Linked DNA regions of Homo sapiens: region 1 is linked to region 2. Evidence: promoter capture Hi-C in 16 types of primary human blood cells and fetal thymus (Javierre and others, 2016). All regions are on one chromosome and are shown on one strand. The core of a region is centred on a gene start or on the middle of the fragment in contact, and the rest is flanking DNA. Distances in the headings are between cores, read along the strand shown.

What was found. Contacts are between HindIII fragments. The CHiCAGO score rates a contact against its expected background, and 5 or more counts as called.
Region 1: a contact is called between a fragment that was not itself captured here and the fragment with the promoter of CLEC12A-AS1 in region 2, in 1 of 17 cell types (neutrophils). The highest score is 6.2, in neutrophils.

Annotation. Positions count from the first base shown.
Region 1 is chr12:9,839,917-9,846,342 of GRCh38, reverse strand. KLRF1 (killer cell lectin like receptor F1) reads right to left here. Exons shown (of 6, transcript NM_016523.3): 4 at 4,392-4,531; 5 at 3,910-4,022; 6 at 1,338-1,925. The coding sequence ends at 1,817. Among named protein-coding and RNA genes, the nearest start is that of KLRF1, 16 kb to the right of the region's middle. The HindIII fragment of the contact is 1,333 bases long and covers 1,215-2,547 here.
Region 2 is chr12:9,949,671-9,954,597 of GRCh38, reverse strand. It overlaps CLEC12A-AS1 (CLEC12A antisense RNA 1), which reads left to right and starts at 1,261. Exons shown (of 3, transcript NR_135047.1): 1 at 1,261-2,048; 2 at 2,519-3,696; 3 at 4,471-4,927. It overlaps LOC124902874 (a long non-coding RNA gene), which reads right to left and starts at 2,941. Exons shown (of 2, transcript XR_007063207.1): 1 at 1,561-2,941. It also overlaps a transcript of CLEC12A not described here. The HindIII fragment of the contact is 17,088 bases long and covers 1-4,136 here.

The DNA of each region.
Region 1 (6,426 bases), core at 632-3,131, 110 kb after region 2:
CCTCAGTAATACAAACTACCATCAGAGAATGCTATAAACACCTCTATGCAAATAAACTAGAAAATCTAGAAGAAATGGATAAATTCCTAGACACATACACCCTCCCAAGACTAAACTAGGAAGAAGTCAAATCCCTGAATAGACCAATAACAAGTTCTGAAATTAAGGCAGTATTTAATAGCCTAACAACTGAAAAAAGCCCAGGACCAGATGGATTCACAGCTGAATTCTACCAGAGGTACAAAGAGGAGCTGGTACTATTCCTTCTGAAACTATTCCAAACAATAGAAAAAGAGGGAATCCTCCCTAACTCCTTTTATGAGGCCAGCATCATCCTGATACCAAGACCTGACAGAGACACAACAAAAAACGAAATTTCAGGCCAATATCCCTGAAGAACATCGAAGTGAAAATCTTCAATAAAATACTGTCAGACAGAATCCAGCAGCACATCAAAAAGCTTATCCGTCACAATCAAGACAGCTTCATCCCTGGGATGCAAGGTTGGTTCAACATAGGCAAGTCAATAAATGTAATCCGTCACATAAACAGAACCAATGACAAAAACCACATGATTATCTCAATAGATGCAGAAAAGGCCCTCAACAAAATTCAACACCACTTCATGCTAAAAACTCTCAATAAACTAGGTATTGATGGAACGTATCTCAAAATAGTAAGAGCTATGTATGATAAACCCACAGCCAATATCATACTGAATGGGCAAAAACTGGAAGCATTCCGTTTGAAAACCGGCACAAGACAAGGATGCCCTCTCTCACCACTCCTATTCAACTAAGTATTGGAAGTTCTGGCCAGGGCAATCAGGCAAGAGAAAGCAATAAAAGGATATTCAAATAGTAAGATAGTAAGTCAAATTGTCCCTGTTTGCAGATGACATGATTGTATATTTAGAAAACACTATCATCTCAGCCCAAAATCTCCTTAAGCTGATAAGCAACTTCAGCAAAGTCTCAGGGTAAAAAATCAGGGTGCAAAAATCACAAGCATTCCTATACACCAATAACAGACAAACAGAGAGCCAAATCATGAGTGAACTCCCATTCACAATTGCTACGAAGAGAATAAAATACCTAGGAATCCAACTTACAAGGGATGTGAAGGACCTCTTCAAGGAGAATTACAAACCACTGCTCAAGGAAATAAGTATATTCTTTTTCTGCACCTAATATCTTCTTATAAGTTTGAAAGCTTCTAAATTTGGAAAGAAAAGTGCAACATATAAAAATTGTATAAAATATAAAACAACACATTTAACACTTTTACCTAGAAATACTACTTTTAGGGCTTCTATCATAGAAATAAAGGTGCTACTATTTAAGAAAACATTCAGGATGTTTATTGTAGCTGAGTGAAGAGTAGCAAAAGCCTGGAAACAAAGTTAATTCTCTTTGACAAAAGGGTAAAAAATGTATAAACCCACATTATAATTCAACCATTAGAAATATAAGAAATTTTGTTTAGGACCTTATTAAGAATTTAAAACGCAAGATACAGAAAAACAGGCATAATTTGATCACATTTGGCATAAAATAAGCGACGAATAAAAATCCTGGATATGATCACATGAAGTCACATTGGTTTATACTATCACGTAAAAATTTTGAAGTGTACATTTTAGTTTGTTAACAGGGGTTACTCTGAGGCTAGACCAGTGTCGATGATGGAGGGAGAAGGGAGAAGAGATTTTGGCATTTAATTGCACTTTAAAATCTTACACCTGGAGATTAATATTAGAAACTAATAGGCCAAAAATAGTGATCATTGATTATTTCACTGTGAATTTTGTCAAACTCTAATACTGACAAATCCATTTGAAAACACTGCTGCAGGTTTCAGAGAAAATTTTGCTTTCCTTAATGGCAGCACAGCTGTTTTCTTTAGCTGGTCCCTTTATGAAGAATCTAGGGAAGAGAGAATAAATACTTTGTTAATCACTGTAGCTGAAGACATCCATTTGTGTCTTCTGCTAATATCCTCTTTTAAATAAAAAAGTAATTCAAAATCTCAAAGCATTTTTACATACTTGGATTCACTAACGATTACAGTAACTGTAACTTAGCCTTGTTAGCTGTGGTTGGTCAAGAGTTGCCAGAGAGTCTGCAACTAACAGAAGTAAGAATAAATTTCCCTCCACATTCCCATTCTAGTATTCCTCCTCTTGCCCCATGTAGTTCAGTTAGATTAAAAATAAGATTAACTCCATGTGGACACCTCACTTAACAACCTCTCTTGCCTTCTTATATCTAATTGTATAAGAACGATAATAATACTTCATGATATTGTTTAGCAGTTATATGAATTGAGGTTTGTAAAGAACTCAATACACAAAACGAACTGTGCATGACCTAAATAATAAATTGCATATTTATTGCATTATTTACTTATAATGTAACATATTAAAAATATTAACAAATTTATGTATAAAATAATGTAGTGTTAGTGATACATTCTGATAAATTTGTTTGACCTGTGGAAAAAGTTCAAGAAAGAATCTTGGAAAAGGTGCACATGATCTTCAAAGCTTCCAAATTGATAAGGGCAAGTAAGTACTGAATTTTCATATTAGAAAATACACTTTGTCCGAGTTTAGTTTTAAATTTTGTATTGAACATATTATGGACAAAAATCTCCAAGCATGATCTAGACTTAAAACTCAACCCTAACGGGTAGTGATGAATGGATTTGGAATGAAGACAAAACCAAGTTGGGCAACTTCATGACGTTCAGTGACACAACTCTGCTCTCAGATGACACACATCCATAATTTTACACTGCATTCCAAATAATGTTTTTTATTCACTTTTTATATTGATTTAGTGCAGTCAGATAGAAAATATGTAATATTTAATGATGAATAGAAATAAGGGGAAAATAATACAATAACACCATTAAGTTGGTTACTATAATGTACTATTTTTCTATCACTACTATGACAAATTATCACAAATGTAGTGGCCTAAAACAAGGCTAATTTATTATCTTACACCTATGAGTATCAGAAGCCCAAGATTGCCCTACAGGGCTAAGATCAAAACGTCTGCAGAGTCACCTTCTGGATGTACTAGGCAGGAATCCGAGGCCACCTGCGTGCCTTGGCTCACAGACGTGATTTCACATCATATGAATCTCTGTGTTCCACTTCATATCTCCCAATATGACTCTAATTCTGCTTCCTCCCTCTTCTAAGGACCCTTGTGATTTAATTGGGGCCACCCAGATAATCCAGGATAATATCCCTATCTCGAGATTCCTCATTTAATCATACCTGCAAAGGCTCTTTTGCCATATAAAATAACACATTCACAGCATTTTGGAATTAGAATGTGGACATCTTTGGGGACCATTATCTTGCCTGCTAACATAGGAATAGGATTTTGAATTTATCTGTTTTACTGTTTATATTTTTAATTAAATATTTTATTATAAAATAATGCGCACAAAAATGTTGACAGAACTTTTAAAATCAATAATTCCATGCATTTGTTCAGAGACTTTTGGATAATCTTGTTCTATGTTGTATATACCATTTGTATTTTGACACTATGATAATCACATAACACAAAAAATGCACATTGGTTTTATTTTATTACTGAAGATGGCTAAAGAAAACATTGAGACCTTTAAAAATAAGAGACTGCATTCATTCAATCTACTTTTCTATATAAAGTGTGAGAAATTTTAAAATCATAAACCACCATTTTCAAATCCTTTTTCTTTAAAAGTCAAATCAAACTATCCATCATTACTCCTGTAAATACTAAATTAATTTTCATTCTTTTGAATTCTGTAGTACCAGTAACTATTTCAGAGTTGAATTTGGTGAACCTGGAGGAGACATATTCTACAATAAACAATAAATCAGATTGCCTTTTAAGAAAGACTCACATCTTTGAATCTATTGGAGAACCATCCACCCAAGTCCATGTCATTTTCAAGGAGGTAAAGTTAAGCCCAATCCATACGTAGTTTAATTGTCTTAGGTTTTTCTGTATAAAAGCCTAAAATGTGGACGAGGGACTAAATGAACAAAATATTTTAGCAATTCAGACACACTGAATATTTTAAATGTTATTGCAAAAAAGCACTCTGCATAGGGATTCTTATGGTAATCAATTCATATCTTACTTATACACACATTATATCATATATATGTTACACACACACACACACAATTGCAAGTTGAATATATGAATTTGGGCCAGATCTAGCATGAGAAGTGAGGCACTCACTTGGAATACAAAATTTAAGAGGGTGCCCAAAACTCGATAATCAAGGTAAATGATGATTTAATGCAAAGATGGAAAGATATTTGAGGAAAGCCATTTTTTACTGCAAAGATGCCATAACCCTGATACTAGACCAATTACCATTTCAAGTTGGTCATGTATGATTAGTAGATGAGATTTTCTTTCCAAACAATACACATAACTGTCACTCCAGCTTTTCATCTCATTAGAGAACCAATAACACTTCCCTTGGTATTTGAGCCATTCTGATTGGCATAGTACTACAGAGAAATGTAGAAAACAAAATGAAATTAAATTACATATGCATCTCTGAAAATTGGCCATAAGAACAATACTTACATGTTGTATAAATAAGAGTTGAGCTACAATAAAATCACTTATAGCAAATTGTCCAGACACAAAAGATGGCCAAAACACAAATAATGGTCCTTGGGAATTAAGACAATTAATTTAATGAGATGAAGCAAAACCTAGACATAATGGGATTTTTGATGCAAGATCTATTATATTGACTAAAATAGCATGAACAAAATAAAATAGCTATTTGAGAGATTAGATAAAATATAATTTGTATCACTTAGAATTTATCCACACAAAGGTTTTTTTTAACTTTTAAGTTCAGGGGTATACGTGCAGGTTTGTTACATAGGTAAATTTGTGTCATGGGGGTTTGATGTAGAGATTATTTCAACATCCAAGTAGCACCCAGTACCCATTAGTTATTTGTTCTGATCCTCTCCCTCCTCCCACCCTCCACCCTCAAGTAGGCCCCAGTGTGTGTTTTTTCCCTCTATGTGTCCATGTGTTCTCATCATTTAGCTCCCACTTGTAAGTGAGAACATGCAATGTTTGGCTTTCTGTTCCTGCATTAGTTTGCTAAGGATAATAGCCTCCAGCTCCATCCATGTTTCTGCAAAGAACATGATCTCATTCATTTTTATGGCTTCATAGTATTCCATGGTATGGAATGGTATGGTATATGTACCACATTTTCTTTATCCAGTCTACTATTGATGTGCATTTAGGTTGATTCCATGTTTTTCTATAGCGAATAGTGCTGCAATGAACATACACATGCATGTGTCTTTATAATAGAATGATTTACGTTCCTTTGGGTATATACCCAGTAATGGGATTGCGGGGTTGAAGGGTATTTCTGCCTTTAGGTCTTTGAGGAATTGCCACACAGTCTCCCATAACGGCTGAACAAATTTACGCTTCCACCACCAGTGTATAAGCATTCCTTTTTCTCCACACCCTCACCAGCACGTTATTCTTTGACTTTTTAATAATAGCCATTCTGACTGGTGTGAGTTAGTACCTCATCGTCGTTAACATCACTGATCATTACAGGAAATGCAAGTAAAAACCACACAAAGTTTTAAAATCGCTCTCCTTGTAGTTTTGTATGTGTATCCCTTTCTCCCTCTTAATATTAATTAATGATTAAATGATTAAATTATGTCAAGAATAACAATTTATTTTCAACTTCTTTATTTTCAACCTCTTAATAACTGAAATATTATGAAGTTCTTTGATTTTCCTAGCTTAATATTAAGGTAAATTAAATTAAATGGAAAATATCGAGATTTTTGGCATAGTATTGAGAAAAAGTGAGATATATATAAAAATATATGTAAAGGCCAATATAACTATTTTAACTTATGGCCCATTACAATCTGTCTCTTTTTATTTATTTTTTATCGTGATTATTTTTCTTCACGTAACATAAAATTCACCATTTTAGCCATTTTAAAGTGCAAGTGCTGTGGCTTTTAATACACCCACAATGTTGTACAACTATCACTACTATCTCATTCTAGAACATTTTCATTACATATAAACACTAAGTAGTCACTATTCATCTTCTACTCCCCCAGCGCTGGCAACCACTAGCCTGCTTTATGTCACTGTGGATTTAACTATGATGGACCTTTCATATAAATGGAATCATACAATATGTGGCCTTTTGTATCTGGCTTTTTCATTCATTCAGCACAATGTTTTCAAGGTTCATAAAAGTTGTAGCATGTATCAGTACTACATTCTATTTTATGGTTGTAAGAATATTTCATAACATGTATGTAGTGCATTTTGTTTATCTCTTCATCAGCTGATGGACATCTGAGCTGCTTCCATTCTTTGGCTATTATGA
Region 2 (4,927 bases), core at 12-2,511:
TTCACATGGTTGAACTTTATTTGTTCTGATAGGTAATCCAATAAAGGTTGTGAAACAAAATTTTGAATAAAGCAGTTTCCATGATAGTTTGATTATTTTTTTTTTTGAGACAGGATCTCCGTCACCCAGGCTGGAAGTGCAGTGGTGTGATCAAGGCTCACTGCAGCCTCAACCTCCCAGGCTCAGGTAATCCTCCCACCTCAGCCTCCTGAGTAGCTGGGACTACAGGTATGCACCATTACACCCAGCTAATATTTGTATTTTTTGTAGAGACAGGGTTTCACCATGTTGCCCAGGCTGGTCTCGAACTCCTGGGCTCAAGTATCTGCCCACCTCAGTTTCTTGCGCCCAGCTGACAGTTTGATTTTTTTTTTTTTTTTTTTTTTTTTTTTATTGATAATTCTTGGGTGTTTCTCACAGAGGGGATTTGGCAGGGTCATGGGACAATAGTGGAGGGAAGGTCAGCAGATAAACAAGTGAACAAAGGTCTCTGGTTTTCCTAGGCAGAGGACCCTGCGGCCTTCCGCAGTGTTTGTGTCCCTGATTACTTGAGATTAGGGATTGGTGATGACTCTTAACGAGCATGCTGCCTTCAAGCATCTGTTTAACAAAGCACATCTTGCACCGCCCTTAATCCATTTAACCCTGAGTGGACACAGCACATGTTTCAGAGAGCACAGGGTTGGGGGTAAGGTCACAGATCAACAGGATCCCAAGGCAGAAGAATCTTTCTTAGTGCAGAACAAAATGAAAAGTCTCCCATGTCTACTTCTTTCTACACAGACACGGCAACCATCCCATTTCTCAATCTTTTCCCCACCTTTCCCGCCTTTCTATTCCACAAAGCCGCCATTGTCATCCTGGCCCGTTCTCAATGAGCTGCTGGGCACACCTCCCAGACGGGGTGGTGGCCGGGCAGAGGGGCTCCTCACTTCCCAGTAGGGGCGGCCGGGCAGAGGCGCCCCTCACCTCCCGGACGGGGCGGCTGGCCGGGCAGGGGGCTGACCCCCCCACCTCCCTCCCGGACGGGGCGGCTGGCCAGGCAGAGGGGCTCCTCACTTCCCAGTAGGGGGCGGCCGGGCAGAGGCGCCCCTCACCTCCCGGACGGGGCGGCTGGCTGGGCGGGGGGGCTGACCCCCCCCACCTCCCTCCCGGACGGGGCGGCTGGCCAGGCGGGGGGCTGACCCCCCCACCTCCCTCCCGGACGGGGCGGCTGGCCAGGCGGGGGGCTGACCCCCCCACCTCCCTCCCGGACGGGGCAGCTGGCTGGGCGGGGGGGCTGACCCCCCATCTCCGTCCCAGACGGGGTGGCTGGCCGGGCTGAGGGGCTCCTCACTTCCCAGTAGGGGGGGGCGGGCAGAGGCGCCCCTCACCTCCTGGACGGGGCGGCTGGCCGGGCAGGGGGCTGACCCCCCCACCTCCCTCCCGGACGGCATGGCTGGCCAGGCGGGGGGCTGACCCCCCACCTCCCTCCCGGATGGGGCGGCTGGCCGGGCGGAGGGCTAACCCCCCCCACCTCCCTCCCGGACGGGGTGGCTGCTGGGCGGAGACGCTCCTCACTTCCCAGATGGGGTGGCTGCCGGGCGGAGAGGCTCCTCACTTCTCAGACGGGGCGGCTGCCGGGCGGAGGGGCTCCTCACTTCTCAGACGGGGTGGTTGCCAGGCAGAGGGTCTCCTCACTTCTCAGACGGGGCGGCCGGGCAGAGACGCTCCTCACCTCCCAGACGGGGTCTCGGCCGGGCAGAGGCGCTCCTCACATCCCAGATGGGGCGGCGGGGCAGAGGCGCTCCCCACATCTCAGACGATGGGCGGCCGGGCAGAGACGCTCCTCACTTCCTAGATGTGATGGCGGCTGGGAAGAGGCGCTCCTCACTTCCTAGATGGGATGGCGGCCGGGCGGAGACGCTCCTCACTTTCCAGACTGGGCAGCCAGGCAGAGGGGCTCCTCACATCCCAGACGATGGGTGGCCAGGCGGAGACACTCCTCACTTCCCAGACGGGGTGGCGGCCGGGCAGAGGCTGCAATCTCGGCACTTTGGGAGGCCAAGGCAGGTTGCTGGGAGGTGTAGGTTGTAGTGAGCCGAGATCACGCCACTGCACTCCAGCCTGGGCACCATTGAGCACTGAGTGAACGAGACTCCGTCTGCAATCCCGGCACCTCGGGAGGCCAAGGCTGGCGGATCACTCGCGGTTAGGGGCTGGAGACCGGCCCGGCCAACACAGCGAAACCCCGTCTCCACCAAAACCAGTCAGGCGTGGTGGTGCGTGCCTGCAATCGCAGGCACTCGGCAGGCTGAGGCAGGAGAATCAGGCAGGGAGGTTGCAGTGAGCCGAGATGGCAGCAGTACAGTCCAGCTTCGGCTCCACATGAGAGGGAGACCGTGGGGAGAGGGAGAGGGAGACGGAGAGGGAGAGGGAGAGGGAGACGGAGAGGGAGAGGGAGAGGGAGACGGAGAGGGAGAGGGAGAGGGAGAGGGAGAGCGCTCACATCCTGTTTTTTTTTTTTTCCTTGAGACAGGGTCTGACAGTTTGATTTTTAAAGGCCAAATCTCTCCAGACTCCAAAGAACTCTGTAGCCAAACAGCAGCACATACTAATCAGGCCTGCCTGTCCTTAGAGCAGCAGCATAGAAGCCTGGAGACATGGACTTCCATCCCATATTCACATTCAACAGCAAAATAAATCCAAATATAAGGCAGTGCTACAATTCAAAGACTGTCTGAGATCAGATGAGATTGGGCATGTTCAGCGTGATACGGGTAGAGATGTTCCCTCACTCCACTGGCCCACAGCCACATGCAGACCAACCCTGAAGAATACACCCAAGCGGTCTGCACTCAGATCAAACCCTGATCTCCCACAACTACATCAACACACAAACAACCACCAGAATACAATCTAACTGCTGCAACAATAAGCAAGTCCCAAGAGAGTCCAAACTGAAACAGTTGAGTTGCTTTCTCCCTGTTTGTTGGGCTAGTTCAATCTGCAAATGGAGATTCCTTCGGAATTTCTCAAATTGAGAAAAGCAGATCCTGCTGTCTGGACCCACAAATGACACTCACTTATCCAGACACATACTCAATTACTAACAAGCCCCAAGAGTGTCTGAACTGGAACAGTCAGGGTGCTTCCTCTCTCCGTCAGTTGGCCTTGCTGAACTTGCCAATGGAAATTCCTTCAGAATTTCTCAAATTGAGAGGAGCCATTCCCACTGTCGGTATCCACAAAAGACACTCACCTATCCACATGCAGAAGTCAAATTTGAAAGGCTGTTCTTCCTAGGCAATCAGAAATGTGGTTGGGGCTGGCAGCAGCAATGCTAAATAGAAAGACTAAAACCCACATCCTGCCTAAAACACATAGGCTGCTGCTTAGGGTTGCGGAAATTCTCCCAACTGGTGACAGCCAAGCCAAGAGCAATGTCTTCCTGATGAGGGAACCAAAATCTGTTACTGAAATGCCAGAGGTTCAGCCTAGGTCCCGTTACTCATTGCACAGAATGCCAATCACTGAGGCAAGTATTTCCAGGGGAGATGACTTTATTCAGTTGCTGCAGCTGAGAAGAACTGCAGATCAGTCTCAAATTCATCTCCCCAAGTGACTGAAATTGGGGGTTTACATAGCAGAGGAGGGATGTAGCTACGTGCAGGAAATAATGTAGCTATGTGTGGGAAAACAGAATTTGAATTTCAGGTAAAAATGACTTATTTTTAATGTAAGTATTGCTCATCAATATTTGTATTTGCTGTCTCTGCAATTATCTGTGGTCGATTGAAATTCAAATTTAACTGGAAATCTTGTGTCTTAATTTGTTAATATGGCCAGCATATCCATAAGCCCATTGGAGTGGATTGGCTGAAAAAGATGAAGACAAATTTGTACAGGCAGCACACATTCTTTTAATGAGAAGAGTGACTTAGTCTCACCACCCACCCTAAAGTACACTCTCCCCACTCTTCTACATACCTTGTCAGTCAACCTATTCACCACCCAATCCCATGTTTTTCACAGCATTTATCAAGTATTTCGGTGCCCGGTTAATATTTTCCAGATGGTTGAGAGGCATCAGGATATTCATTATGTTTCTTTTATGGACTAATTGCCTGCTACTCTAAGTCAAGTCACAGAAAGCTTATGGACTGAAGCAAGATCGCAGCTACTAAGGTTTCTGGAAAGTAACTTTGCTAGTAAAAGAAGCTTCATAATGCCTTCGATGGTTATTTATGTTGTAGCTTGTGTCAGAATGTCCTTCCTTTTTAAGGCTGAATAATATTCCATTGTATGTATATATGACATATTTTTATTCCACCCATTGATGGACTCTAGGGTTGCTGTAACCTGTTGTTAGCACAAAGTTCTAAATTCAGACTGCCGTAACAACAATAACAAAAAAACTGAAATATATGCACTTATACACCAAAATGCTAGGTCTAGTTGTCACTTTCTCTGCCTCTTTAAATTTTTCAGGGCAACAGGAGATTTGATGGGGAATGAACACCCCACAGCTCTGTGCAGGAGTGCCTGGAAGTGAGGCCAGTCAAGGGAATGCTGCCAGACAACCAACTCAGCTTCAGACCATCTTCAGATCGTAACCCACCAGGGACTGTGGGCTTTGCCAGACCACATTTTTGGTTACTGCAACTCAAGTTGGCTTCTAAATCTCAAAAAATGTGACAATGATACAGATTTTTTTATCTACTTTTGTCTAAAACATTTAAATACTCATTCTGAAGTAACTCATCTCAAAATCCAATGCTAGAAAAATGGAAATAATTACAGGCAGATGCAATGATTTAAAGGTTTAAAAGAAGCTGTCCATTCTAAAGAGTCAGAGGAAACCTTTCCTTATGAAATGGTTAATGAAATAAATAGGAAAAAAAAATCCAACACAATCACGAGGTTCCAGAAAACATTGTATATTTAT